Regions from separate parts of the Homo sapiens genome. Here all the other regions are linked to region 1. The links are contacts of gene promoters, found by promoter capture Hi-C in blood cells and fetal thymus (Javierre and others, 2016). All regions are on one chromosome and are shown on one strand. The core of a region is centred on a gene start or on the middle of the fragment in contact, and the rest is flanking DNA. Distances in the headings are between cores, read along the strand shown.

Region 1 (5,040 bases), core at 860-3,359:
TAGGCCACTTTCTTCTTCCTGGAGGTAACAATCTGTCAATTGCTTAAGTTAGGACCATCATCCCTCTCCACCTTTAGAAGCTATTAGTGGGAACTGCCCAACACTGGCCATACAATCTGAAAATGGCATTTTCAAATAATTTATGGATAACATCCTAAAAAAGGACTGCCGATTGTCACACTCCACTCTGTGGATCTTTTCGAAAGAAAAAAAAAGTAAACAATCAAAAATTAAGTTAGGTTTCATCCCTCAAATGATATGGAGTTACCATAAATAAAAAAACTAAATGTCACAGAGAGGATACTAACTCTGATACTCCAGTGTGTGTCGAGCAAAAGTGCTTTGAAGCCAGCCAAAATCAACCCACAGATAATAAAGGAAACTTTGGAAATGTTGCCGCTCATTTGGACTTTTCTTTTCCCCTCTGACAATAGTCCACATGCTATGAATAAAATACATTAGACCATTGCGAGACCTGCCTCGGTCCATCCAATCCATGCGCCTCCCAATGCATTGAGATCTGCCGGGTGACATATGAGATCTAAAGTGGGTGGATAAAAATAACCTGGTCCTCAAAAAGACATGATAAACGCCAGACAGCTGAGTCACTTTGAAGCCCATTTTGACTTTTGAAAGGGACATTCACCCTCCTGCTGCTTCTCACACATTCACATAGAACCAGGTGAAAACCACCACCAACCGCCCCGGGTGGAAGGCGGCGATCCCTCTCAGCTTCCTCCTCATTCTCCGAGGTCACGACTCGGGATTGAACTTTTAATAATTTATACTTGCGCATGTCAGTCCAAGTGACTCATTTAGAAGGGCAAGGTGGGGAAGGCTTAAGAAAACCATCGCAATCCAGTAGATCCCCTATTTCTGCTGCCCGAGTGGAGGCACCGGAAGGTTTCGTCTGACATTTTTTTTTTTTTTTTTTTGAGACGGAGTCTCGCTCTGTCGCCCAGGCTGGAGGGCAGTGGCGCGATCTCGGCCCACTACAGCCTCCTCCTTCCCGGTTCAAGCGATTCTCAAGCCTCAGCCTCCCGAGTAGCTGGGACTACAGGCTCCCGCCACCGCGCCCGGCTAATTTTGGGGTTCTTTTTTAGTAGAGATGGGGTTTCGCCATATTAGCCAGGCTGGTCTCGAACTCCTGACCTCAAACGATCCGCCCGCCTCCGCCTCTTAAAAAGTGCTAGGATTTCAGACGTGAGCCACCGCGCCTGGCCCTGACATTCTAAAGACAAGAAAAGGAGTGGGGTGAAATGGGAACTGGTGGAAGAAAAGCTCAGAGAGCAAATCAGAATTGTCCAGAAGTGGGGATCCCTGAGCAAAGCAAGTGGTCCCAGAAAAAGAAGGGCTGTGTGTGTCCCGGGGTGTGGGGGGATCATCCCGTCCACCTACCCGCCCTGCGCTCTGCCCCGCGGAGGACGCAAACGATCTGCAACGTGCAGTTCGGAACAGGGAACTCTTGTATTTCATCTATCTTTAAACGGCGGCGGGGCTGTGTGCAAGCTGCTGGGAATCGGGCCCTTCCAGCCTGGGGAGGCTGGCGGAGCAAAACCACCAGCACGAGCCAGTCCTCGGCTGCAGCAGCCCTGGGGCGCTCACTAAGTGTCTGCCGAACTGCAGTGTTCCTGAGCCAACTCTGCCGCCCGGAGGAAGAGAAGAGGTCCCGGCCGCCACTGCGCATCTTCTCCCCCGGCTTCACGTGCCGCAGGCCGCCGGCCCCGCGACCCTCCCCCGAGGCGCCTCACTTACGGGAGAGTCGTAGGAGAAGGCGCACTCGTTCTTGTAGACCCTGTCGCCGGACCTGGGCACGCGGATCGTGGGCATGTGGGGCACTAGCAGCTCGCCGATGTCTCCTGCAGCCATCTTCCTGCCTCCGCTGCCGCCCGGCATGCCGAACAGGGCGCCCCGGCGCTGCATGGCCTCGGCGCGCACCGGAGCCGAGCGAGCCGAGCCGGAGCCGGAGCGCGGGGTCTGCCGGCGGCGGCGGCGCCAGCGAGCGGGCTGACGGGCGGGCTGCGCGGGCAACGGCAGCCGGCCGAGCCGGGGCGGGCGGGGAGAGCGGGCTGCGGGGCGGGAGCGGGCACCGCGGGCTTGGGGCGGACTGGCGACGCTATTTTTAATCCAATGGCGAGTCTCCGGCCCAGCTGCAGCGTCAGGCGGGGCTGGGGAGCGCCAGCCGCAGCGTGCCGGGGAGGGGGCGCTGGAGAGGGGCCCTGCGCGTGGGCCGGGCGCGGCGGCGGGGGGCGGAGGGCGAACCCCTGAGGCGTTGGCGCGGGAGCTCGAGCGGGCTGGCGGCCGAACGCGGCGCGGGAGGGCCCCGGGAAAACACCACGGAGGTGTTTTCTATCCCGAATTGTTGGCTTGCAGAGGGGCAACTCCGAGGAGGCCAACACAAAGAGCAGGATTGGGGGTTTTAAAAACCGCTTGCTTTTAAAACAGCCGAAGACTAGGGCGGTGACGTCCCCGGATTGGATAGGGGCGGGACTCGATGTGCAAATCTGAAATCTAACGTGAGGCTTAAATCTAAATTTGCGCCATGCACTTCAGTGCTTCCCCACTAAGCTTCGTTCCTTACTTTAACATCCAAGGCTCAAAAATAGAGCGAATAGAATAAGATCGAGTGAGGATAGAGGGTGTGTGTGTGGGGGAGGGCGGGGTGTGTGTGGGAGTGTGTGTGTAATAATAATACAGGTTTTCTTACATATTGGGGGAAGTCAGGGATGGTCAAGATTTTTTCAGGGCGTCGGAAGGCTTTCTATTTTTCTCTGCCTTTGGAGTATCTTCTATGTGATTCAAAGTTCTCATGTCGAACATTCAGTGGCCTGATTTGAGGATTTTGTAGGCAGGCATACATATTCCTGTCTTGATCATCAGTTCCTCAAAATAAATGATGAATGGGGTTGGCCTCGGGGGTTGATCATTTGCAAGCAGAGCATGTCTCCCAGCATACTCTCATTCTCTCCAAAAAACCCACAAGACGGGTTCAATGACATTGAGGTTCTCTAACTACACCCAACATATGTATTCATGACAGAGTATCCAGTGATCCCTGCCAGTTAATGAAATGCAGAAATAGCGAGAAATAGTGAACCAAAACGCTAATTTTTGTAAGCCTCTCTCAGATCAGATAGTCCTTAAGTTCTTTTTTTTTTCTTACTTTTTTTCTCTTTTAACTCTCCCTGGTTCTCCAGACCTATCTCAAGATTTCCATACCCTCAAGCAAGCCTCGAGCGCACCACACTTTCTTATAACTCAGCACTCCCAAATGCTATCTGTTGGAAAAGGAGGAGGTGGCACTGAGCAAAAAATCAGACACTACTGTCATCTTCCTCATTGGGCAGATCCTCTCAGCGAGCTTTTGCTTTGAATTTAGTCTCATCAGCTTATTACCTTTCACGTTAATGGATGATGTTTTCTCCAATTACAGAGATAAACTTGGTTTTACAAAACTTAAAATTTAATCTTAGATTAAATACAAATTAAATCAGTGAGACACTGTTTTTCATCCTTTGGGCTGGTAAAGATATATTGAGTTAGCATGGGTTTGGGAAGTAGACCCTCATTACATTGTTGGTGGGGATAAAAACGATAAACCTCTTTGGAAGGAAATGTAATAATACCAGTCATAACTTTATATGTGCATACTGTTTTCCCCAGCATTTCCTTGTCTAGACATTTATGCAACAGATAAATTAAGGCTGTGTAAAGATATTTGTTAGAGCACTGTTTCGAGTAACAAACGTCTGGGGAAAACCTAAAGATCCTTCTGTAGAAAGTGGTTAAAATACAGTACCATTGAAAAGAATGAAGTTGCTCTACGTGTGCTGATGTGGAACAATCTCCAAATTATTACTAGATGATAAAAGCAATTTAAGCAAACTAGTGTATAAAAGCAAGGAATACATGCAAGGCTGATAATATGCAGTAGGCATTTTGGCACATCCTATATACCATGGGCCTTCATTCCAGTTGGTTGTACTTGTAGTAAATATTTTTAATGTAGCCCCTTAAAATATACATATGTGTATGCATGCCCACTTGTTTGGCTTTAGGATGTCTCTAGAGCAATACACAAGAAACTAGTCAGGCTCTGTGGAGAAGAACTGAAAGCCTGAGGTTAAGGGAGAACTTACTACCTGGTATGGTAGGGCTGTGTCCCCACCCAAATCTCATCTTGAATTCCCACGTGTTGTGGGAGAGACCCAGTAGGTGGTAATTGAATCATGGGGGCAGGTCTTTCTCGTGCTGTTCTTGTGATAGTGAATAAGTCTCACAAGAGCTGATGGTTTTACAAACGTGAGTCTCCCTGCACAAGCTCTCTCCAGTTGTCTGCCTCCATCTGAGACGTGCCTTTCACCTTCCACCATGATTGTGAAGCCTCCCCAGCCACATGGAACTGTAAGTCCAATAAAACTTTCTTTTGTAAATTGCCCGGTCTCAGGTATGTCTTTGTCAGCAGCGTGAAAACAGATTACTACACTACCACTTTGTAGCTTTCTGTATGATTCCATTTGTATTATGTGCAAGTATTGCTTTTTCCCCCCCTTTCTTTTTGGAGATGGAGTCTCCCTCTGTCGCCCAGGCTGGACTGCAATGGCGCGCTCTCAGCTCACTGCAACCTCCGCCTCCTGGGTTGAAGCGATTCTCCCGCCTCAGCCTTCCAAGTAGCTGGGACCACAGATGCACGCCACCACGCCAGGCTAATTTTTTGTTGTTTTTTTTTTTTTTTTTTTGTAGAGACGGGGTTTCGTCACGTTGGCCAGTCTGGTCTCCCACCTCGGCCTCCCAAAGTGCTGGGATTACAGGCGTGAGCCACCGCGCCCGGCCTCAAGTATTGCTTTAAAAGTTAATTAAAACTCAGCCATCGCTCTCCAACACCAGCGCCGCCTGTCACTCGCCACGCTCCAGCAGAAGAACGGGTCTAAGTAAGGAGGTCACTATACCATGGCTGGTACAAAGCTGACTGCCCAAAAATCAATTGGTGGTAAAGAACCCAGGAAGCAATCCCAGCACTTTGGGAGGCCGAGGCGGGTG
Region 2 (5,040 bases), core at 2,541-5,040, 970 kb before region 1:
TTTACTAACCCAGTGCATCACTGTTGGCACATGATCAGTCCTGCTAGAGTCTGAAGTTGGGGCAATTCAACCTACAAATACCACCACAGCTGACACCCACTCCCATGCACTACCAACAGGCCAGAGGACCAGCATGTCCAACCCATTGCAGCTACCAGCAACACCAGTATGGACCTTCTGGGTTCCAGTGAGTTGCTTTACCACCGCTACTGCCATTACCTGCATCACACCAGCTGCCCAGGGGCCTGAAAACCCGCCTGCATGTCGGGCCCACCATTCCCACTACCAACATCTGAGCAAGCTACCCAGAGGCCCAAGAATCAGCCTTCCAGGATCCACTAACACCAGTGACAGTATAAGCTACTCTCTGGCCTGAGAATAGATACACTCAGCCCACCACTGCCACCAATGGGGCCCAAAGACAGGCTTACCTGGCATCCTAGACCCCAGCAAAACTTCACCAAAGCTCAACTAATAACCATACCTTAAGTCACTGAGGAAATCACAGATACCACTGAACCTGTGTACTGCCTAAGAAATCATACAAAGACCACACTACCACAGGCACCCCACATCAAAACACCAACTACATATGTACTTCTTCAGGAGAAAATCCTCTCCTAGGAAAGCAATTTCAAAAAATTAGCAGAAGCAACTGTTACATGAGATATGCATCTATCAATGGAAGGACACAGGAACCATGAAAAAGCAAGGAAATGTGACCCACCATATAACAACTGTTCAGCAATAGATCCCACTCAAAAAGAAATCCTTGAAATGCCAGATGAAAAATTCAAAATATTGATAGAAGCTCAATTAGATGCAAGAGAAATCTGAAAACCAATATAAAGAAATCAGAAATCAATTCAGGGTATGAGCAAAAAATTCACCAAGGAGATATCTTAAAAAAAAAAAAAAAGAAAAATAGACTACACAAGCAAAAGAAAGAGTCAATAACAGACTAGACAAGCAACAGAGAGAATCTCAGACCTTGAAGACAGGTCTTTTAAAATAATCCAGTCAGACAAATTAAAAAAAAAAGAATAAAAAAGAGTGAACAAGGCCTTCAAGATGTTTGGAACTAGTAAAGTGACTGAACTTACAAATTATCAGTTATGCCTGAGGGGTAAGAGAGAGAAATAAGTTTAGAAAGCCCATTTAAGGAAATAATTGATGAAAACATCTCAAGTCTAGTAAGAGAGTTAGACGCCGAGACACAAGAGGCCCAGCAATCCCCAGGAAAATACATTTCAAAACAATACCTCATCATGGTGTATTGTAATCAGAATGTCTAAAGTCAAAGTGAAACTGCAAGAGAAAAGTTAAAATTAGCAAGAGAAAAGCATCTAGTCACCTATAAAGGAAACCCCATCAGAATAACAGCAGACTTCTCAGCAGAAATCTTATAGGACAGAAAAGAATGGGACAGAATTTTCAAAGCACTAAAAGGAAAACAAAAACAAAAACAGAACAAAATAAAACCAAAAAACACCTGTCAGCCCCCAATTTTATATCCAGCAAGAATAAGCTTCATAAAGGAAGAAGAAATACCCAGCAAAGCAAACACTAAGGGAATTCTTCACCACTAGACTGGTCCTCTAAGAAATGCTCAAAGGAGTTTTAAAATGGAAACAAAATGTCAGTATTCACCATCGTGAAAACACACAAAAGTACAGGACTCAAAGGTCTTATAAAACAAACACACAAAAGAGGAAGAGAAAGGCATCACTGGCAACATAACAGAATTCTACCAAAACACAGACGACCACACAGAGAAAAAAAAGAAATAATTTATAAACCAACTAGGTAACAGTTGAAAATATGACAGGAACAAAATCATACATATCAATATAAGTTTGAATGTAAATGGATCAAACGACCCAATTAAAACATATAGATGGTGGAATGGATAAAAAATGTGATCCAACAATATGCTGCTTATATGAAACTCACCTTATTGGAAAAGACATATATACTGAAAGTAAAGGGGTGGAAAAAGACATTCCATGGAAACCAAAAGCAAGTAGGAGTAGCTTTACTTATATTAGATAAAAGAGATATTAAATCAAAACAGTAAAAGAAGACAAAGAAGGTTATTATATAATGATAAAGGGATTACTTCTGCAAGAGGATATAACAATCCTAATTATATATGCACAACACTGCAGCACCTAGATTCATAAAACAAGCATTACCAGATTGAAATAAAGAAAGAGCAAGACAATAATGGTGGGTCAACACCCCACTGACAGCACTAGGCAGATTATCAAGACAGAAAATCAACAAAGAAACACTGGACTTAAATCGGGCTTTAGACCAAATGGACGTTAACAGACATCTACAGAACATTCTACCCAACGACTGCATAATATACCTTCTTTTCATAAGCACATGGAACATCTCCAAGACAAGCCAGAAAACAAGTCTCAAAAAAAATAAAAAAAAAAATCTTCTCAGACCACAGTGGAGTGAAAAACCGGCAATCAATGCTCAGAAAACTTTGGGCACTTTACAGATATATGGAAATTAAACAATATGCTCCTAAATGATCACTGGGTTAACAAAGAAATCAGGATGGAAATTTAAAAAAATTTTTGAAATGAATGAAAATGGATACACAACATACCAAAACCTGTGGGATAGAGCAAAAGGAATGCTAAGGGGGATGTTTATAGCATTAAATGCCTATATCAAAAATGTAGAAAGATCATCAATTAACAACCTAACACTGCACCTCAAGGAATTAGCAAAACAAGAAAAAAAACAAAACCAAACCAAAGTTAGCAGAACAAAAGCAATAACAGATCAGAAGCAAAACTAAATGAAATAGAGACAAAAAAATTTACAAATGATCAAGGAAATTAAAACTTTGTTCCTCAAATGACAAACAAAATTGATAAACTGCTAGCTAATCAAGAACAGAGATCCAAGCAAACAAAATCGGAAAACAAAAAGGAGACATTACAACTGAACTACAGAAATATGAAAGATCATCAGGGACTATACTAACTTATAAATTAGAAAACCTAGAGTAAATGGATTCCTGGAAACAGATAAATTTCTGGAAACATATAATACACCCTCCCAAGGTTGAACCAGGAAGAAACAAAAATCCCGAATAAACCGATAATATAAATAGCAAGAATGAATCCATAATAATAATAATAATAATAATAATAATAATAATAAAAATCTCCAAACAACAACAAAAAAGCCCAGGGTAAGATGTAGTAACAGCTAAATTCTACCAAGCATACAAAGAAGAACTAATACAAATCCTCCTGAAACTGTTCCAAAATATTGAGGAGGAGGGAATGCTCCCTAACTCATTCTATAAGGCCAGTATCACACTGATACCAAAACCAGACAAGGACACAACACAAAAAAGAAAACGATAAATCAATATTCCTGATGAACATAGACCACAGACACAAAAATCTCCAGCAAAATACTAGCAAATTGAGTCCAACAGCACATCAGGAAGATAATACACCATGATGAAGGGGGTTTTATGCCAGGGATGAAAGGATGGTTTAGTATATGCAACTTAATAAACATGATACATCACATAAACACAATTAAAGACAAAAATCATATAATCATCTCAATAGATGCAGATAAAGCAATGTGATAAAATTCAGCATTCCTTCATGACAAAACCCTCCATAAACCAGGCATAGAGGGAACATACCTCAAAATAATAGATGCCATCTATGACAAACCCACAGCCAACATCGTATCGAATGGGGAAAGAGCTGAAGGCATTTCCCGTAAGAATTAGAACAAGACAAGGATGCCCACTTTCACCACTCCTATTAAACATAGTACTGGAAGTCCTAACCACAGCAATCAGGCAAGAGAAATAAATGAAAGTCTTTCAAATAGGAAAAGAGGAAGTTAAATTATCTGTGTTCACATGATATGATCTTACATCTAGAAAGCCCTAAGAACTCCACCAAAAAAAATCTTAGATTGGATAAATGAATTCAGCAGTTTCGGGATACAAAATCAAGGTACAAAAATCCATAGCATTTCTAAACACTAATAATGATATAGCTGAGAACCAAATGAAGAAGGCAATTCCATTTATAACAGATACAAAAACAGTACCTAGAAATGTATTTAACCAAGGAGGTAAAAGAGCTCCATAAGGAAAACTACAAAACACTGATGAAAGAAATTATAGATGACACAAAGGTAAAAACATTACATGCTCATGGATTGGAAGAATTAATATTGGTAAAATGACCATGGTGCCCAAAGGAATCTACAGATTCAATGCAACCCCTATCAAAATACCAATTTCATTTTTCACAGAATTAGAACAATCCTAAAATTCACATGCAACACAAAAATCCAAATAACCAAAGTAATCCTAAGCAAAAAGAACAAAGCTGGAGGGATTACATCATCTGACTTCAAATTATATCACAAGGCTATAGTAACCAAAACATCAATGGTACTGGTATAAAATGAGACACAAAGATCAATGGTACAGAAAAGAGAACCCAGAAATAGACCCACATACAGCTAACTGATCTTGGACAAAACTGACAAGAACATACACTGGGGAAAGTATGCTTATTACCTGTGTGACAAAAAAATCTGTACACCAAACCTCCATGACACACAATTTACCCATGTAACAATCCTGCACATGTAGCCCTTGAACCTAAAAGTTGGAAGAAAAAAAAGTGGGCTAAGGACATGAGTAGGCATTTTTCAAAAGAAGACAAACAAATGGCCAAGAAGAATATGAAAAAATGCTCATCATCATTAATCATTAGAGAAATGTAAATTAAAGCCAACAATCAGAATGGCCATTAGAAAGACAGAAAACAAGAGATGTTGGTGTGGATATGGAGAAAAATGAATGGTTATACACTGTTGGTGGGAATGTAAATTAACACAACCTCTATGGAAAACAGAATGGTTTCTCAGGTAACTAAAAATAGAACTACCTTTTGATCCAGCAGTCCTACTACCTGGTATCTACACAAAAGAATAGAAATCATTAAATCAAAAAGATACCTCCACTCC
Region 3 (5,040 bases), core at 973-3,472, 930 kb before region 1:
CACACTTAATACACAGCCAATATCTGAGTTGCATCATCATTTCTTACATCAGAGTTATAATATGAATGGTAGAGATTTCATAGTCTTTTGGTGTAAAATTGCTTTAAGTTCATTTAAAGGCCTTTATCAACAAAATTTCTAAGCTTATAATGCTTTTTTATTTTTCCACTTTCAAGTTCTAGAACTTAAAGATATTCCTTATCCTCCATGGTGGTTTCTGAAAAATAATTTATGTGTTGAGCACTGAGTAAAAAATTTGGGGTCATGCGATGACTGATTTTGCATGGGTCATTGACTCCAGGTGACTTCCTTTTCTGAGCTATCGAAGATCATTCCTAATTGTGGCAGCCTAGATTTTTGCTGTTACCCATTTCATGTCTATTTCTGTGGCCACATTTCACTTCTAACAAACAAAAGAAACACCGTTATGTTAGGAAAGTTGTTTGGCTATGTTTTTATTATTTTTTTCCTGAGACTTTTTATTAGCCAATAATCCAGAATTTATTGTATCCATTTTCATTGGAATCGTAGTGACAAGCATCAATATGAGAATTGTAACTCAGAAATTCACCTAACGTTTATTTGACTATCTCCTTGTTCCAAATAGCTGTAGGTGCTGGGAATTCAGTAATGAACAAATCATAGAAAAATCCCAGTTGAAAAAAGATAGTGTGAGTGGTTATTGCTGATGTTTTGCTTTCATCCTGAGAAATGTTCCTTAATTCTAAACCTATGGACTTGGATATGAAAGGAAAAGTATTCTGTTTTTTATAGCTTCCATCAGCTCCACAGAATAAAATATCTAGTACCCTTTTATGATTTAAAGATGTAGGGAAGAAAAAAATTCACAATAAAATAGTATAATTTCACAATAATAAATATCATCACCTTGACTATATCTGTATAATTAAAATATTTCTAAGCCATTGCCATTACCTTTTATTTCAGGCTGAATTAAAGATAACTCATTTTCTAAATTGCATAACAAAGTAGTCTCTGTAGGACCCTTGGAGCTAGTGTTGTGCAAACTGTATCAGTGAAATTTCTGTACCATTTACTAGGATATTTGTTTTACGGAATAGTCTTGGTTTACATAAACTCTTTTCCCAGCGTTCATGGAAGCAAGAGAGTTGAACTGGGATACAGATTTTCTTATGATAGATTATATTAAAAATGATTAAACAAAAATATGTTTTATATAGATAATACTAAGTGGATTGACAGCATATTGCTGCTGAGATTTTTCTTGGAAGTCTGTCTTTTACAAAACTGTTTGTCTTTTTCAAACATTGATGCCTTATCTGTTCTGAGAACTCATATGTGATATTTTTGGCATACTTGTCCATTTAGGTTGTATGCAGCTTTCAGTTTTCCTAAAACTCTATCATAGGTGTTCATTTCAGTTTCTCTAAGATCCATGCAAGACTCATGTTCACTTGGGGCATATGACATGCTTCCTCTCTAAGGCTAGCCCTACCATGTCACATCTTAGGTCTTGGAGGGAGGGATGAAAATTCTTTTAGATCTTCCTCACTTTAGCATCCATTTACTCTTTTCCACACACTATGTTTTATTTTCCCAGAGACCATGAAGTGATCAAATACCAGCTCCCTAAGGAACTCTTTTCAGTTTAATTAGAAAAGAACAGTATTTAGTTCCTTTTTTTTTCTTCTGGAAGTCATTTCTAGCTCCTGTACCCATCTTCTTCCTCTGTTCCAGTAAGTTATCTTTTGTCCTGTATTGCCAATCAGTCTTCCAGCCCTATCTTACCACGTCACATACCTGGATTAAAGTCATTGCAGTAGTAATAAAATTTGACAAATCTGGTTTGCAGACGCATGGCAACTGGGGATAAGGTATGGTGGCATGACTTAGGAATTATTGATTTTTTTTCCTGGTCTGCGTGATTAAATGGTGATCCTTTTCTCAGTTGGGCACTTACCATAGAAGGGTAACTATTGTTTTAGGGACTGTCAATAATAGTATACATGAAGAAAATCAAAAGCCTTGACTCCTGATTGCAACTATGACTGAGTAACTGGTACAAGACTAACCCTTCCGCCATTAACAAATCCCCTGCCACAGAAAGGAAACAAAATTATATGAAACAACTGCTTTCAGATATCGGACAACAGGTCATGAAGGGTTTCACTGTCTGAGCGAAAAAAAAAATAAACTAGATAACTGTTATTATTGTCGAGTTTTCTGGTTAGAGGCACTTATTGGGCAAAGGTGCAGAGAGGTGAAACCCAGACAGAGCATAGCAGCCTTGCTGAGATGATGAGACAGATATTAGAGTTTGGAGAGGCACAAACAGCTGAAATTTATGGGTAGAAGACCAAAGAGGAGAGAACCAAGCAGGGAAAGAACTCCAGAAATCTGCATAGGTTCCTTTTGAGTATTTGCTTACTAATCTGCACAAATATAGGGTGAGACTCCACAAGACCAAAGAACAATGACCAGGGAAAGAGCAACTACTGGGAAGCTATAAGCTGAACAAGTATCAGAATTTCACAGGGCTGAACAAGTAGGGTGGAAAGACCCTGTGGAACACTCAGGCAATTCATTAGAGATCCCCAAAAGGCCATACCCCTTTTTGGTTTTAGTCCTAAGAAGAAGGGCTAAAACTAGCCTTATAGTAAAATCTCTTCTAGACCCTTCTTAACAAAGTTGAAAAGGAAGTTTCAAAATAGACAATGCAATTCAACATATCCAATATATATATAGATATCAAAAGTTACTAGACATGCAAAAAAACCCATGAAAATGTGATCCCTAACCAGGTTTAAAAAATCCATTAATAGAAACAGTTCTACAAACAGGCAAAATTAATGGACTTGGACTTTTAAAGAGCTATTATAATATGTATAAAAATTAAGGCTGGGTGCGGTGGCTCACGCTTGTAATTCCAGCACTTTGGGAGTTCGAGGTTGGCGGATCTTGAAGTCAAGAGATTGAGACCATCCTGGCCAACATGGTGAAACCCCATCTCTACTAAAAATACAAAAATTTAGCTGGGTGTGGTGGCGTGCGCCTGTAGTCCCAGCTACTCAGGAGGCTGAGGCAGGAGAATCGCTTGAACCTAGGAGGAGGAGGGTGCAGTGAGCCGAGATCACGCCACTGCACTCCAGCCTGGCAACAGAGCAAGAATCTGTCTTAAAAAAAAAAAAAAAAAGTAGGAATGGAGATGGAAGAAAGGAAAAATAACTTAGGCATTGTTTTTTTCTCTCGGTTTCTGCCTTGGAATAAATTCTGGTGCAAGTACAAGGAAGGAAGACAGTAGAGGTAAATTTCTTCTCCCCGTCTTCCTCTGATGGGTCTAGTCTCTGTGTCTTACACCTTCTCTCTGGAGCTCTAGTAGGCTTGCCGAGGTTTACCATGCTGTGGCGACTTGAAAGAAATGAATCAGAAAATGCATAAGGGATGCTTTAGAACAATGAATACCTGCTGACAACCCTGGGATACTGTGGAGTCCAAGAGGTATGGAAAAAAGCAGTGAATGTTTCTCTGTGTCCACAAGAAAGAAAGGGCACAGAATATAGGTGAGAAAGGGGAACTCAACAGACTTGGAGGAGACCTATTCGTTTCCTCAGCCAGGATGAGGAAACCCCTAGGGAAGACGTGGGAAGATCAGAAGAAAATGCTGCCACATCTCAGTAGATTATCAAAACAGTGGGGAGACATGATCTCCAAAGATACCAGCTCCTAAGAACGAGACCAGTTAAAATTCAAAGTACACAACCTCTATCAGGATGGCATGGTGGCATTTAGTTAAGGCTCCCATCCCAGCAACAACTAGGGAAGAGAAAGAGGGCAAAAAGAAGGCAATCTTAAATAGTGCTAAGTGCACTATTTATTTTGGTACATCTCAGTTTGTTTCATTTTGGTACATCTCAGTTTGTTTCTTGTTAAACAGGCTGAAATAAAATGATATCCTGCTCCCCAATTGCTTTTCTAAACATGTAGCTTTAGATTCATTAGTGAATAAGTTTAGAAATGTACTTATTTCTGTAGAGAAGTATGAAACCAGCCAACGAATTCGTGTGAAGCTAATGCACTTTGTGTAGGAAAGCAATTTACAAAGTAATATGTAGCTATCTTATTGAAAGGAAAGGTAAAAAAAGCATCATAGACAGCTAAAAAGAAATGATCTTCTGTATCATTTTAAAGATGTGATGATTAAATACTTGCATACTTCACTTTGTCTTATCTGCACATACACAGCTGCAATAAAAATCTCCATCTACCCTATCAGTGTGATCTGAGAGAACGGAATACTATGTCTACTTGGTTAAAGCTTTTCTTCTCTAAACATCAGGACGATTTAAGGAAAATACACATCTAAGCTCAGTTCTAATAGTTCCTTGCCACTCACTTGGAAAAATTCACTGTGGGTTGCAAGTTCATGTAGTAGTATACCTGGTTAAAATACAGCAGCTCTACCATTGTTACCTCATCATACTATAATTTCTTTGGGACGTGAACTTAAATTTATACAAGATTTTATTATAAAATGCTATCTAATTTAGGGATACTTAAATTTTTTTGGTTTTTTTGTTGTTGTTGGTTTTTGTTTTTGTTTTTTTTTTTTTTGACAGAGTCTTGCTCTGTTGCCCAGGCTTGAGTGCAGTGGCACGATCTTGGCTCACTGCAACCTCCACCTCCCGAGTTCAAGCGATTCTCCTGCCTCACCCTCCTGAGTAGCTGGGACTACAGGCCTGCGCCACCACACCTGGCTAACTTCTGAATATCAAGCTGAAATTACTATCAGATATCTTGCCACCACATAGAGGCTTTGAGTGAAGTCTGCATGGAGGAGAACAGAGCTGAGAGATGGAAAGATACTGAATCCCAGTGACGTCCTTTGAGATGTCGGATCAAGCTGAGCTGGGCATGAAGATAGAGCTACTCCTATACTTTTAAGATACGTAAGTTAATGAATTCCCTTGTTTGCTTGGATTAGCTTGATTATATTTTCTGTTACCTGCAGCAAGAGTCCTACTACCTTGAGTATTTCACACTTGCTCTCCAGATTCACTC
Region 4 (5,040 bases), core at 1,044-3,543, 640 kb after region 1:
GCCAGAGGCACCTCTCTAACCCTGTTTTCTAGAAATCCTTACTAGGTTATGGACTTTGACCAACGGTATCTAGTGCCACCTTGTGGACTGTCTAGATTTTACAGTTAGCAGTTTGTGGTTGGTGAACTAACTTTAAAGCAGGATGTTTGGTTGAAAACCACCTTGTGGAGGATATGAGTTTTTATCTGTAAATAAAACAAGTCATGCCTTTAAGAGATACTGAGGACTGTTTTTGCAGCTTAAGTCTGTAAAGGATGACAGAGTGGGAAAGTGTTGAATTGGAAATCAGGATCCATATATATGTATGGATAGATATATATGCACAGGCATGTGTGAATGTCTCATTTTTTGTGATTATTTAAAAACGTCTATTTTGTTTAAAAAAATCTGTTCTCTACATATTCGGTTATGTGAACAACAACAAACATGGAAATTAAAATAATGGTCAATGAAGGCCCCAACCAGGAAGTAAAGGACTAGAAAAATCTTTCATCAAAGAAGACTTGAAAATTTAAAAACACAATTATATACAAGGGCAAATGTTACCAAACATGGAAATCTTGCTGACATAAAAATTAAACTATAAAATATTAAAATTTTCCCAAACATAGTTTATTTTTGGGGAAAACAATATTTTCTGCTTTAATAAGCTAGCAATGAAGAAAGAGACTTTTTTAAAAAAGTAGTTTTATTAAATATTTCAAACATTCAGAAAAAGTACATACTGGGTAACTGGTCTCAGTTCTGTCACCAGTGTGTTCCCTGGCTTGTCACTTGACCTCTTGAAATTCAGATCCCCATAACTGGGGTATTAGGGGTGGATCTAGTTATTTCTTCTTTATTCCTCTCTTTCAGTACTATGGATAATTTAGAAGATTGCTGTTTTCAAAAAGAATTGTTTTTTTTTTTCGAAATACATAAGTCCTGAACTCACTCCTGAACTCCATGCTGCCATGTCCCCCCTGCCCAGCGGCAATTGATCGCGGTTAGCAGTTTCTTGAGTCTTTTCCAGATAAAGTCTATGTAACGTGAATGGAGGCATTCCATCCCTACTGTTCTGTTCATCACCTTGGGGTATGTGTGTGTGTGTGTATGTGTGTGTGTGTGTGTGTGACCTTGGCAAGCATTCCATACCAGCACATGTGGATCTATTTCATTGTTTTTCATTCTGTGGTGTTTCCTTGTATGATTTCTAAAATTTCTGTTATTGATCCTCTATTGATGGACATTTATGTAATAATAATTTAAAAAAATTAAACCCTTAAAAATAGCAAAACATATAAAATTTACCATTTTAACCATTTAGTTTACAATCATAATCACTCTCCATCTCCAGAAATTTTTTATCTTCCCAAACGGAAATTTTACTCATTAAACAATAACTCCACATTCTCTCTTCCCCAGTCCCTGGTAACCACCATTCTACTTTCTGTCTCTATGATTTTGACTACTTGAGGTACCTCATATAAGTGGAATCATATGACAATTGTCCTTTTGTGTCTGGCGTATTTCACTTGGCATAATGTCCTCAAGGTTCATCCATGTCGTAGTATGTATCAGAATTTCCTTCATTTTTAAAAATTATTTTTAATTAGGGATATATAATATTGTACGTATTTATGGGGTACATGTGTCATTTTGATACAAACATTCAATGTGTAATGATCAAATCAGGGTAATTGGGGTATCTTATCACCTCAAGCATTTATCAACTTTCCTTCCTTTTTAAGGCTGAATAATATCCCATTGCATGTATCGATGACATTTTGTTTATTCATCCACTGATGGACACTTACGTTGCTTCTACCTTTTAGCTATTGTGAATAATGCTACTGTGACCATAGGTGTACATAGCTGAAGACTTGGAAAATTATAAATTATTTTATATATGCAAAGTGTATAAAAGTTTAATTTTTTTCACTGAAGCTTTGATAATTTGAGTCTGTAAAACAAACTGACCATGGATTAACAGGAAAAAAGGCATACAGATTTATTAATGTACATATGGGCATGGGAGTCATACAAAATATGAAAAACTCAAATGTCCAGACAGCTGATGCTGTAAACCAAAAAGTATCTGAGACAGATCTCAATCAACTGAGAGTTATTTTGCCAAGGTTGATGATACACCCAGGAAAAAAAGCCACTAGCCACAATAGAATCTGTGGCCCACACTTTTTTTCCAAAGAGGATTTTGAGTGCTTCCATATTTAAAGGGGAAAACATGGGCAGGAGAGAAAAGAAGTGTAGATGAAAGAGGCAAGAAGTTGCAATCTTTTGAAGATTTCATCAGCGTTCAGTGGATCCACATTTTACATGTGAAAGGAGAGGGTAGAGGCATTTGTCTCATGCTCAGTGAATCTACGTTTTTACATAAGATAAGTAAACAGAATAGAGGAAGCAGTCAAATATGCATTTGTCTCAGGTGAGCAGAGGTATGACTTCTGGTTCTATCCTTTGTCCCGTTCTTCTGAAGATAAATTGTTTGTTATTGTCAGGGTGAAATTCAACAGAACTGTTTTAGGGTAAGGATCTTGAGGGCCCACAAAAAATTTGCTCGTGAGCAAATTGCGAGGGAGGTATGTAGGTAGTCTTTCATCTTTGTAGCTGTTGAGGAACAAAATGGGAGGCAGTTTTGTGTGACTCAGTTCTCAAGCTTGACTTTTTCCCTTAGGTATGGTGAATAGGGGGTCCCAAAATTTTATTTTCCATTCACAACTCTTTAATACTATCTTGAGGTTACAGAAAGAATAGGGGCTTGAAGCTTGTCAAGACAGGTTATGGTGGCATGAGAGGTTATGGGAAGGAGAGAAGAGGCAAGGTGTGCTGCAAAGGTGGTCTTGTTATGCAGATGATCTCACAGGTAGCAGCCCTCAGAAAGGAAAAATGGGAGGCCAGGTACGGTGGCTCATGCCTGTAATCCCAGCACTTTGGGAGACCAAGGCAAGTGGATCACCTGAGGTCAGGAGTTCGAGACCAGCCTGGACAACATGGTGAAACCCCGTCTCTACTAAAAATACAAAATTAGCTGGGTGTGGTAGCGGGTGCTTATAGTCCCAGCTACTTGGGAGGCTGAGGCAGGAGAATAGCTTGAACCCGGGAGGCGGAGGTTGCAGTGAGCTGAGAGCACACCACTGCACTCTAGCCTGGGCGACAGAGCAAGACTCCATCTCAAAAAAAAAAAAAAAAAAAAAAAAGAGATGGGAGCCTGTGGTAGATGTTTCTATAAAACCTTTAAAGGTGTCAGGCTCTCAGTTAATCTTGCCTTGTTCTGGACAAGGTGGGGCTTCAGAAAAAGCCTGTTTGCATCTGTTGTTTACTTCACTTTATTTCCTCTAGAGATGCAAATCCCCGTAAAAGACTCAGCTTTGCAGGCTGATTCTTGTGTTGCAGGCCCTCTGAATAGTCATCTCAAAATATGTCAAAGAAGTATATTTTGGAGTGAAACATTTCTTAGTTTCCTTTAGTCCCCCACTTGAAACTTTAGAACGTTTCGCTTATTAATGTTTGGGCGCAGTGGCTCATGCCTGTAATCTCAACACTTCAGGAGGCTGAGGTGGGTGGATCGCTTGAGCCCAGGAGTTTGAGATCAGCCTGGGAAATATGGCAAAAGCCCATCTCTACAGAAAAAAAAAAAATAATTAGCTAGCCATGGTGGCACGTGCCTGTAGTCCCAGCTATTCAGGAGGCTGAGGTGGGAGGATCACTTGAGCCTTGAGGGGGAGGTTGGAGGATCACTTGAGCCTTGAGGGGGAGGTTGCAGTGACCTGAGGTTGTGCCACTCTATCCTGAGTGACAGAGAGAGACCCTGTCTCAAAAAAAAAAAAAAAACACAGAAGTGTCACTTATTAAAGTAGGATTGGTAGCTATGGAGAGATTTGGGTTAGAAGTTTTGAGATAAGAGGGAGCAAAACAAATTGGGATAAGCAGAAAAGAACAAATATAAGTATGTCATGCCATATCTTCTTGAATCCGTCTCTTAGTTGTGATACTACATCAGTTAAACTGTTGTTTCCCATTGCAACAGGTGGCATTGCAGATGGGCTCTCAAAGTTAGGCCAAACATCTTTGATAAGAGACATTTCTATGAAAACAGAGAAAAATAACGTTAACATTTGGAACAGCCTATAAATTAGTTTCTTTAGAGTCTGGAGGGCAGTCAGTTGAGAAGATGGCCAGATTTGGGTTAGAAACATCTTCAGTTGAAACAGACAGGCAGTGGCAATCTGGCAGATTTTCCTGGGTTGTAGTTTTTTTTTTTTTTTTTTTTAGTTTTTGTGGGTACATAGGTGTATACATGGGGTACATGAGATATTTTGGTACAGGCATGCAATGCATAATAATCACATCATGGAAAATTGGGTATCCATCCCCTCAAGCATTCGTCCTTTGTATTACAAACAATCCAATTATACTCTTTTAGTTATTTTAAAACGTACAGGTAAATTATTATTAACTATAGTCAACCTGGTATGCTATCAAATACTAGGTCTTATTCACTCTTTCTAACTACTTTTTTGTACCCATTAACCATCCCCACTTCCTCCCCTCCCCTCACTACCCTTCCCAGCCTCTGGTAACCATCAGTCTACACTCTATCTCCATGAGTTCAATTGTTTTGATTTTTAGATCTCATAAATAAGTGAGAACATGCATTTATCTTTCTGTGCCTGGCTTATTTCACTTAATATATTGACCTCCAATTCCATCCTTTGTTGTTGCAAATAATAGAATCTCATTCTTTTTTGTGGCTGCAGAGTACTCCATTATGTATAGGTATCACATTTTCTTTATGCATTCATCTATTGATGGACACTTAGGGTGCTTCCAAATTTTGGCTATGGTGAACAGTGCTACAACAAATATGGGAGTACAGATATCTCCTTGATATACTGATTTCCTTTCTTTTGGGTATATGCCCAGCAATGGGATTGCTGGATTGCATGGTAGCTGAATTTTTAGTTTTTTGAGGAATCTCAAAACTTCTTCAAAGTGGTTTTACTAATTTACTTTCCCACCAACAGGGTATGAGCGTTTCCT
Region 5 (5,040 bases), core at 661-3,160, 620 kb after region 1:
TGAGTGAGGTCCAGTTTGAGTTGAGACTTGAAAGATTAGAAGGAGCAATCCATACAGAGATCTGCAAGAGGTACATTCTAGGCAAAAGGAACAGTTAAGTACAAAGGCCTTGGAGCTAGCCTGAGCTTGGCATGTTTAAGGAGCACATGCAGCCTAGTGAGCCAGGAGCATAATGAGCAGGGGAAAGGAAGGAGTGCTGTCTGACATAAGGCCCAAGAGATAGACGGGGCCAGATCATGTAGGGCCTTATAGGTAAGATTTGTCAATTAGATGGGGCCAGAACATGTAGGGCCTTATAGGTGAGATTTGTCAGTTAGACAGGGCCAGATCGTGTAGGGCCTTATAGGTAAGATTTGTCAATTTTAAGTATAGCAGAAAGCCATTGGAAGAGTTTTATGTGAGGGAGTGACATGGAACTGATTCATGTCAAGAATTATTACTTGGGTTTATAATGAGGAGAATTCTAGGAGGACAAGATTAACAGCAGAGACCAATTAGGAGTTGTTACCTACTGCAAATGACCACTGTTACCTACTGCAAATGAAAAATGTTGGTACCTTGGATTACTGTGGTATTTGTAGTATCCATGGAGAGAAGTGGAGTGATGTGGGATGTATTTTGAATGACAAGACTTGCTGATGGGTTGAATGTGTTGGGCTTAGGGAAGGATGGAATCAGGAAAAGGACCCCTTGGCTTTTCTTGGGTAATTTTGTGGATGGTGGTGCCATTTACCTACTGTGGATGACTAGTGGTGGTGGTGATGGTGGTGATGAGAAAGTTCTATGGAGGAGGAATCAAAAGTTGTTTTAAGTTGGATATGCCTCTTAAGACGTGAAAGTATGGATGACCAGGAGGAAGCTGGATATGTGGTTCTGAAGGTCAAAGATGGAGATTGATGATTTGGGGAGTCACCAACTTACTCATGGTATTTGAAAGCTATAGGTCTGGGTAGAATAACCTAGAGTCAGAGAATAAAAGAGGGCTAAGGGTGCGTCCTTGGACATTGTAGAGTTTAGAGGTCTGATAGAGGAGGAGAGGTGGGGAGGGAAGAAGGAGTATAGATGATAGTAGGAGGAATGTTTCAAGAAGGAAATGAACTGTGTCATGCTACTTTGAGTTCCAGTAAGATGAAGGCACATATGTGACCACTGGATTTGACTCTGGAGTTCACTGTGACCATGGTAAAAGCACCTTTAGGGTATTGAAGTGAGGAGAAGATGGATCTTAGTTCATTACTCTATTTAGCTGCTTAGGTATCTGTCTCCTCCTCTATGTGCTAGTCCTTAGTTTATTTCTAGGGCTTAGCATATAAATAGATGGTGAATAAATGTTTGCCTGCAGGTTTGAGTTTTACAATGCAGTTTAAAGAATAATATACTGTTTTACCCTTATTTAGAATGCTTTTGTACTATTGACCCTTGCCACTAGTTTGTGTCAGTTCAAGGAATATAATCATGTGACTAATAAAACGTGATGAGAAAGGCAAGTTGATGTTAGTAGAGGTTCCTAGTGCATCTTGAAGCCATCATGCTGTAGTGGAAAAGGGCCATTCTTTGATTTGGAAGGCCTGTCTCAGGCTTTGGCTGTGCTATTTAGCCCTTGAGAAGGGAGCTGGGGGCAAGCTCCTTACAGTCTCTGGATTGCAGTTCCTTGGCTGTCATAAATGGACAATATTAACAAATTCCTCTTACAAGATTTTTGTGAGCAGCAAATGAATAAATGCAATGAACATCCTTTGTAAGTAAAAAGATACTCTGTAAGGGCAATTTTAAAAGAATAATTGGATTATCCATTTCATTACTAACTTATAAAGTACATTAGATCAGAGTGTCATGAAATTCATATTTATCTGTGGCATATAAATGGCAAGAAGTTGGGTGAGGACATAAGTCACTGGAAAATGTGATACTTCTTTTTTTTTTTTCCTAAAATCCCATATTCTTTTCTTTTCTTTTCTTTCTTTCCTTTTTTTTAAAATTTTTTTAGTATTTATTGATCATTCTTGGGTGTTTCTCGGAGAGGGGGATTTGGCAGGGTCATAGGACAATAGTGGAGGGAAGGTCAGCAGATAAACACGTGAACAGAGGTCTCTGGTTTTCCTAGGCAGAGGGCCCTGCCGCCTTCCGCCTTCCGCAGTGTTTGTGTCTCTGGGTACTTGAGATTAGGGAGTGGTGATGACTCTTAACGAGTATGCTGCCTTCAAGCATCTGTTTAACAAAGCACATCTTGCACCGCCCTTAATCCATTTAACCCTTAGTGGACACAGCACATGTTTCAGAGAGCACGGGGTTGGGGGTAAGGTTATAGATTAACAGCAGCCCAAGGCAGAAGAATTTTTCTTAGTACAGAACAAAATGGAGTCTCCTATGTCTACTTCTTTCTACACAGACACAGTAACAATCTGATCTCTCTTTCCTTTCCCCACACTTCCCCCTTTTCTATTCGACAAAACCGCCATCGTCATCGTGGCCCGTTCTCAATGAGCTGTTGGGTACACCTCCCAGATGGGGTGGCGGCCGGGCAGAGAGGCTCCTCAATTCCCAGACGGGGCGGCCGGGCAGAGACGCCCCCCCACCTCCCAGACGGTGTAGCGGCCGGGCGGGGGCTGCCCCCCACCTCCTGGATGGGGTGGCTGCCGGGCGGAGACGCTCCTCACTTCCCAGATGGGGTGGCTGCTGGGTGGAGGGGCTCCTCACTTCCCAGACGGGGCGGCTGCGGGGCAGAGGGGCTCCTCACTTCTCAGACAGGGTGGCTGGTCAGAGACGCTCCTCACCTCCCAGATGGGGTGGTGGTGGGGCAGACACACTCCTCAGTTCCCAGACGGGGTCGCGGCCGGGCAGAGGTGCTCTTCACATCTCAGACGGGGCGGCGGGGCAGAGGTGCTCCCCACATCCCAGACGATGGGTGGCCGGGCAGAGACGCACCTCACTTCCCAGACGGGATGATGGCCGGGAAGAGGCGCTCCTCACTTCCCAGACTGGGCGGCCGGGCAGAGGGGCTCCTCACATCCCAGACGATGGGCGGCCAGGCAGAGACGCTCCTCACTTCCTAGACGGGGTGGCGGCCGGGCAGAGGCTGCACTGTTGGCACTTTGGGAGACCAAGGCAGGCGGCTGGGAGGTGGAGGTTGTAGCAAGCCGAGATCACGCCACTGCAGTCCAGCCTGGGCAACATTGAGCACTGAGTGAGCGAGACTCTGTCTGCAATCCCGGCACCTCGGGAGGCCGAGGCTGGCAGATCACTCGCGGTCAGGAGCTGGAGACCAGCCCGGCCAACACGGCGAAACCCCGTCTCCACCAGAAAATACGAAAACCAGTCAGGCGTGGCGGCGCACACCTGCAATCGCAGGCACTCGGCAGGCTGAGGCAGGAGAATCAGGCAGGGAGGTTGCAGTGAGCCGAGATGGCGGCAAGCAGTCCAGCCTCGGATCAGCATCAGAGGGAGGCTGTGTGGAGGGGGAGGGGGAGGAGGAGGGGGAGGGGGAGGAGGAGGGGGAGGAGGAGGGGGAGGGGGAGGAGGAGGGGGAGGGGGAGGGGGAGGGGGAGGGAGAGGGAGAGTTTTTTTTTTTTTTATTTGAGACAGAATCTAACTTTGTCACCCAGGCTGGAGTGCAGTGGTGTGATTTCCGCTCACTGCAACCTCCGCCTCCCAGGTTAAAGTGGTTCTCCTGCCTCAGCCTCCCGAGTAGCTGGGATTACAGGCATGTGCCACCATGCTCAGCTAATTTTTGTATTTTTAGTAGAGATGGGGTTTCACCATGTTGGTCAGGCTGGTCTCGAACTCCTGACCTCAGGTCATCCACCCTCCTTGGCCTCCCAAAGTGCTGAGATACAGGCATGAGCCACCGCACCCAGCCAATGTGATACTTTTTAAGAAACATACAGGAAATTAATTTCCTTTGGCTGTGTTCTCTTGTCTTTCCCAGAAAAATTTAATTGTTCTGTTAGAGCCAAAGAGTAGGCTCTTTTACTTCAAGATCTAGCAATCAAATCTAGCACTATAGTAGTCTGTTTACCCCCAGGGTTGTGTATGTGTGAAGGAATAAAATGTAGTTAGTATTGTGTTTTTTTCTTTTTTTTTTTAAGTGATTAAGTAAATACATTGATTAACTCAGTTTGACACACTTTCTCATGGTGATTACAGTTTTCATTTTTTTTTATCCATAGGAGATATCAAGACCTCTAGTAGAAGCCTAAAACCGTGATATTTCTGAACTCTTCTATATGCGTTTTTTTTTTTTCCTGTACATACATAACCCAGGAGAAAGTTTAATTTATAAATTGGGCTAGTAAGAGAATAACAACAATAATTAATTAGAAAAAAGAACAATTATAAAAATATACTGTCATGGAAATTATGTGAATGTGGTCTCTCTCTCAAAATATCTTAATATTTTTGGACCACAGTTGACCATAGCTAACTGAAATTGCTGAAACTGCAGATAAGGGTGGACTGCTGTACTCATTTTATTTTTATTTCTAGGGTAAAAATCATGGTAAGAAACTCCGAAATTACTATGCAGCAAATAGCTGTCCTCCTCCTGCTAGAATGAGCAATGTGGTCGAGCCTGCAGCTACTCCAGTTGTTCCAGTCCCTCCGCAGGTGAGACATGTGTGTCAGGGTGAAGCAGCATTAGGGTGGAAGCTGTAATATGCACAAATGGTTATAGATGACATTTGTCGTCCATGTGTCCATTAGGGTACAGTTGGGAAAATAATCCTGAAAGATGCTGCTTGGTACTTTTAACTCCTTGAACTACAGTGCTGGATTTAATGCAGGCTATTGTTACGTGAGTCTTTATACATTTCTTAAAATTCTGGGCTAAATAGGCCAGGTGCGGTCACTCATGCCTGTAATCCCAGCACTTTGGGAGGCCGAGACGGGCGAATCACGAGGTCAAGAGATCGAGACCATCATGGCTAACACGGTGAAACCCTGTCCCAATTAAAAATACAGAAAATTAGCCAGGCGTGGTGGCGGGCACCTGTAGTCCCAGCTGCTCGGGAGGCTGAGGCAGGAGAAAGGTGCGAACCCGGGAGG
Region 6 (5,040 bases), core at 1,286-3,785, 580 kb after region 1:
GTGATGGCATCCATACCGGGTTGAGGTGCGTGTGTGGGTTCGTGTGTATGCATGCACATCTTAGGAATGTAAGGTGGATGTGGGCGACGCTGAACTGTCTGTAGCTTTGATTCAAATCTGTAAACAGTTCTCTAGGATTAGGAACCGTCACAGCGGAGACTGAAAAACATTCGCCAATTCACCAAGGCCTCTTCCCCAGTTTTCTGCGTTCTTTTGAGCCTTCTTTATAGGATACACCTTGCCTCAAGTGATTATTATTATTATTTTTTTTAACTTTTCTCCCTCTCATTCCTTCTTGCTGCGTTCTGATGACCTCTGAGTAATGCTCGCTGCCTTTCCCTCATTTCCAGAATTCCCAATTACAGACTTACCTAGTTTGCTGAGGTGCTCCTAACCTGTTCCTTTATTCTATTCTCTTTCCTCTGTAGATTTCTCCAAATGAGACAAGAGATTGTCTTTAACACAGTATGTGAAGAGTAGGCCCCAGTCCAATCATTAAAACTAAGTATGCTATGACAATTAATTTTCTTTAAACAGGGTACCTTGTGAAGCTTTGATTTTCTTTAATGTCGTCTTAGCTCCTTTCCAAACCAGGACATTAACCAGCATAAATCCTTCATTTATGCCATCGCAAGCATCAAAGTGACTGGTTTTTAAGATTTGAAGAATATTTATGCCAGTCTTCAAATTAGTCCCTTTTAAACCAATGCAACAGTTGAACAGATCTGAGTTGCATGTTTTGGGTCTCTGTATTCCATCATTCATGCATTCACTGAAGACTTGGTTTTATTCATTTTAAGATTTATATTTTATACTAATTTTTGTTTGCAAATGTACTAATATTTGATGCAATTGTCATACATAGATTTTTTTGAGGAGTCGACATTGTGTTGATTGTTAAATATAACAAGAAATAAATTTGGGATATCAAGCTACTCTTTAAAAATTGTAAAGATCAAATGTGATAATGGGTAAATCTGTGTTTGGCAAGAATTTTTTCTTTAAATCAGGTAACTGTCACCTCTGGTAGGAGGCCTTTTGTGCCTCTGTTCTTTGAGAAGGATCTTTATTTTGAGGGAAACCTGTAGATAACACTGGGGGAGACACATGCTAGAATTTCCTCAAGTGAAAGTGAGCTTTCATAAAACAAGTCCAGACATGCCTAGGCAATTGGTAGCATTTGATTTTCTGTTTATATTGCTGATTTCCTTTATCCAGAGGTTTTGACACCCCCCCCCACCTTTTCACTAATGAACTAGCAGAATGTTTGTGGCAATTTGACATCAGTAGCTTTTCAACATTATGAATTATTATTATTAGGTAGTTAAACTTTTTAAAAGCTGTTCTTTGTCTACTTAGTTCCGTTTTCTAAAATGACCATATCTGTCTTTGCTTTCTGGACTATCTTTGCTTGATTCAATTAAGAGAAATAATACCATTACAGAGAACCTGACTTTTTAAATGTTAAAACTCTATATTGCTTTTCTTTTATGTTCCCAGAGATATGGGCAGTACACTTCTGCTTAAAAATTAAATAATATTATCATTTTTCTAAATTTTGTGATTAATGAGAAGTATTGTTAAATTCTATGACTAATACTTATGCACTTTGTCCTTAACTACATTATTTTCCCATCACGCTGATTTCCTTTGTTGCCTCCCCACCCCAAATTTCGTCTGAAAGTTGTTACTTGATTTTCAGGTGCTGTGTAGTTATCAAATATGGTAAAATAGACTTTAACTTTTCAAAATTTACTTGATTCATTTTAGTAATTCTATTATTGCCATAATGTACACATTTCCATTGCAGATGGAAAATTTCAGCAGCTTAAAATAGCCATATTCTATTGACCAAGAGAAGAGGTTTTAATAATACTGTATTGAGAGAGTGGAGGGAATTGTGGATTTTGAAATAAGGATTCTAATTTGGGTTAATTAGAATCTTGGGAACTCAAAGGGTGTACTGTGGTTCATTTTGAGACACTCAGGGTTAGACGGCGCCATCTGGGGGGGAGGCAGGAGACATTATGGATAAAGATTGAAGAGGGAGAGGAACATTTTGGGTCTTTTCTGAGGGAATTATAATAGAGACTATCAGTTATTTGTTAAGAAGGAGGAGGGAAATAGCCTCAAGATTGAGGAACTGGAATTATACTGTGGCTTATGGTGGTGTGATCCATTACTCCATTGGACATTTCCTTGATACCTTATTTTGTGTAGGTAATTTACCTAGAGAAGGAGGAAAAATTTGGGTTTTACAGGGGCTGATGAATATAATCTAAGGCTGTATGAGGCAGGGCTGTAAACTCAAGAGCTCACAGAGAACAGGCAAGTAACAAGTACAGGCAGCAGCTGAGTGGGGACTGAGGTGTCCCAGAGAAGGCAGGCCTCGCTAGAGGGCACAGTGCCTCTGAGCACTAACTAGCTAATTGCGTCCCATATAGGAATGTGGGCCAAGTGATGCCAGATCATCCTTTTTCAAGAGAAGCCATGAATCTCTTGATTTTTAAATGCTAACAACTAATTCGACTTAAAAAAATGAAAACAAAACTGTATATTCCAAACAGCACATCTGTGGCTGTATGTGGCCCACAGGCTGTTTGCCACCTCTGCTATACATTTGCTCAACTACTTAAATATTGCTAGTTGATCAGAAGGAACATATTTTATTTATTTCTGTCATACTTTAGGCTACTCCTAGAGTTCCCTGAAATTTTAGCTAGTTCTATAAGTGCTTTAAGAATTCTGCAAGATGATATTCTTTTATACACTCTTTTTGATATTGGTTGGTTGGAAGATATGTTTGCTAAGATTTTTAGCTGGTGGTCTTTTTTTTTTTTGAGTCACAGTCTTGCTCTGTCACCCAGGCTGGAGTGCAATGGCACGATCTCGGCTCACGACCACCTCTGCCTCCCCGGTTCAAGCGATTCTCCTGCCTCAGCCTCCTGAGTAGCTGGGATTACAGGCACTCGCCACCACACCTGGCTAATTTTTGTATTTTTAGTAGAGACGGGGTTTCACCATGTTGTCTTGAACAGGCTGGTCTCGAACTCCTGACCTCAGGTGATCTGCCCACCTTGGCCTCCCAAAATGCTGGGATTACAGGCGTGAGCCACCACACCTGGACAGCTCGTGGTGTTTTTGTCTGTGCATGATTATCATTAAGAGTGTTTAAGTGTAAGTGTGCCTGAGGGAAGGGGTCTGGACTAGGTGACATTTGATGTCCATTTCAGCCATGTGACTTTTAGATTTAGCCGTGGATGCAATGCTGTTAATGTTCACGGGCCAAAGGGATAGCAGTTGGAACTGTGCCAAGCAAAATAAAGCCAAATCTATAAAGCCATTCTCAGTGGAAGAGCACCGTGTTAACATGAATTAACAGGCAGGGGAAGTCTGCTAAATGAGGCCAAAGGAAAGAAGTCCCAAAGATGGGTTTGGAGAAGTAGAAGAAAGGGTCAGATTATGTTGTCATTTACATGTTATCTTGCTGAAGTCTGATTTTCAAGTGAGTTTTTTTTTCTGTTTTTTTGCTGTTGATTCAGATTTGAAGACCTTGCTTCTCATCACCCACTGGATTATGCCCCAGGCTTCCCTACCCAATGATCCTCTTGCAACACGCCGTGCTTCCTCCACCTAAGCAGCCCTCACCCTCGCCTCCTATGTCAGTGGCCACCAGGTCTACAGGAACCTTGCAGCTTCCACCACAGAAGCCTTTTGGGCAGGAGGCTTCCTTGCCTCTTGCAGGGGAAGAAGAGTTATCGAAGGGAGGGGAGCAAGACTGTGCCCTGGAGGAGCTATGTAAGCCCCTGTACTGCAAACTCTGCAATGTCACCTTGAACTCTGCACAGCAAGCCCAGGCTCATTATCAGGTAAAGGGAGAAAAGAAAACCAGGCATTGAGTAGGGTGAACATTTCAGGGCTCTGGCTATTTAGCAGTTGTCTCTCCAGATATGACTGTGCCTGGAATACCAAGATGGCTTAGAGAACAACTAACTATGAATTTGTTTGATTAAAAGCCTTATGTTTTTACTTTAAAAATAAGTATCACTTTTTGTAGACTGGATCTCAACCTGTTACACTAAGCTGTGTGGCATGCGATAGCTTACCAGTCTTTGTAGGCAAATGTAAATGATCTATGCTGGCATCTGAACCTGTAGTCTTAAGAAGAACAAGTATTTAAACCACTATTTACCAGCCTGGGTGACAGAGCGAGACTTTGTCTCAGACAAACAAAAAAACCCATGATGTACCGAACTCAATTCAGTGTAAAATTGTTTAGAAGCTAATATAATTTGCATCATTTCGAGGTGACCTCTGTGCATGACTCTTATGCTTTCCATTTTTGACTTCTAACTCTTATATATCCTATCACTGGTAAGGAAAACACAGGTATCTTTTTGTGGTGAGAATAAAATGACATTGCAATATTGAGCCCTATCCTTCATTCATAATAAACATACTCTGATTTATTTTAGCCCATTAGCGTAAACTAATACTGGTTTTTAAGATTTAAAGCTTTCACCTCCATGTTGAATAGCTAGTGGAAAGGACCATTTTAAAGGGTAATATTACCTAAGAACAAATGGAAAATTAAACTTTGGTTAGCAAGAGACGGTACAATATTTCTTTTTATTCTAGACATTTGTCTGTATAAAGTTAAATAATTTCCTTTTTTGGAGAAAAGAGACCTGGGAGATAATCAAGGACAAAACCCAGTGAATGATGTCTTCCCGGGTCATCACTGATTTGATTATTTATTATCTGCTTGAAAATCTCTAGTAATAAGAGAGTATGGTAGAAGACTGTTACACAGGTGTTTCTTCTGTTGTGCACTATAACTTTCTCCACTTTGTTTACTGTGGGTGTTAAGTCTTTTCTGTTTTGTTTTGATCCCAAAGACTGATTATTGTGTTGCTTTTTGATTGTATGTCGGAAGTATTTTGATGGTCAATTGTTTTCTCTGGTATTTAGGGGAAGACATAATATGTTGCCTCCTTTAAGTTCCCATTATGTGGTTTTGTTTTGCCCTCAGGTGCAGAG

Evidence for each region. Contacts are between HindIII fragments. The CHiCAGO score rates a contact against its expected background, and 5 or more counts as called.
Region 2: a contact is called between a fragment that was not itself captured here and the fragment with the promoter of USP13 in region 1, in 4 of 17 cell types (naive CD8 T cells, M1 macrophages, total CD8 T cells and 1 more). The highest score is 5.9, in naive CD8 T cells.
Region 3: a fragment that was not itself captured here is called in contact with the fragment with the promoter of USP13 in region 1 in 1 of 17 cell types (M2 macrophages); the score reaches 5.1 in M2 macrophages.
Region 4: a contact is called between a fragment that was not itself captured here and the fragment with the promoter of USP13 in region 1, in 2 of 17 cell types (total B cells and total CD8 T cells). The highest score is 6.4, in total B cells.
Region 5: a contact is called between a fragment that was not itself captured here and the fragment with the promoter of USP13 in region 1, in 2 of 17 cell types (neutrophils and activated CD4 T cells). The highest score is 8.2, in neutrophils.
Region 6: a contact is called between a fragment that was not itself captured here and the fragment with the promoter of USP13 in region 1, in 3 of 17 cell types (naive CD8 T cells, activated CD4 T cells and monocytes). The highest score is 6.8, in naive CD8 T cells.

The regions. Positions count from the first base shown.
Region 1 is chr3:179,650,109-179,655,148 of GRCh38, reverse strand. USP13 (ubiquitin specific peptidase 13) reads right to left here and starts at 2,109. Exons shown (of 21, transcript NM_003940.3): 1 at 1,756-2,109. The coding sequence starts at 1,923. It also overlaps the pseudogene H3P13. RefSeq lists an enhancer at 1,636-2,279 and silencers at 1,948-2,287, 2,298-2,377. The HindIII fragment of the contact is 8,280 bases long and covers 1-2,570 here.
Region 2 is chr3:180,621,228-180,626,267 of GRCh38, reverse strand. All of the region lies in intron 14 of CCDC39 (coiled-coil domain 39 molecular ruler complex subunit), which reads left to right. Among named protein-coding and RNA genes, the nearest start is that of TTC14, 22 kb to the right of the region's middle. The HindIII fragment of the contact is 4,519 bases long and covers 1,531-5,040 here.
Region 3 is chr3:180,584,236-180,589,275 of GRCh38, reverse strand. TTC14-DT (TTC14 divergent transcript) reads left to right here. Exons shown (of 3, transcript NR_183700.1): 2 at 4,619-4,928. Among named protein-coding and RNA genes, the nearest start is that of TTC14-DT, 15 kb to the left of the region's middle. The HindIII fragment of the contact is 4,154 bases long and covers 146-4,299 here.
Region 4 is chr3:179,010,751-179,015,790 of GRCh38, reverse strand. No RefSeq gene overlaps it. Among named protein-coding and RNA genes, the nearest start is that of ZMAT3, 59 kb to the left of the region's middle. The HindIII fragment of the contact is 730 bases long and covers 1,929-2,658 here.
Region 5 is chr3:179,030,442-179,035,481 of GRCh38, reverse strand. It overlaps ZMAT3 (zinc finger matrin-type 3), which reads left to right. Exons shown (of 6, transcript NM_022470.4): 3 at 4,483-4,602. Among named protein-coding and RNA genes, the nearest start is that of ZMAT3, 39 kb to the left of the region's middle. The HindIII fragment of the contact is 8,661 bases long and covers 1-5,040 here.
Region 6 is chr3:179,066,312-179,071,351 of GRCh38, reverse strand. ZMAT3 (zinc finger matrin-type 3) reads left to right here. Exons shown (of 6, transcript NM_022470.4): 2 at 3,543-3,869. The coding sequence starts at 3,600. Among named protein-coding and RNA genes, the nearest start is that of ZMAT3, 3.0 kb to the left of the region's middle. The HindIII fragment of the contact is 3,964 bases long and covers 554-4,517 here.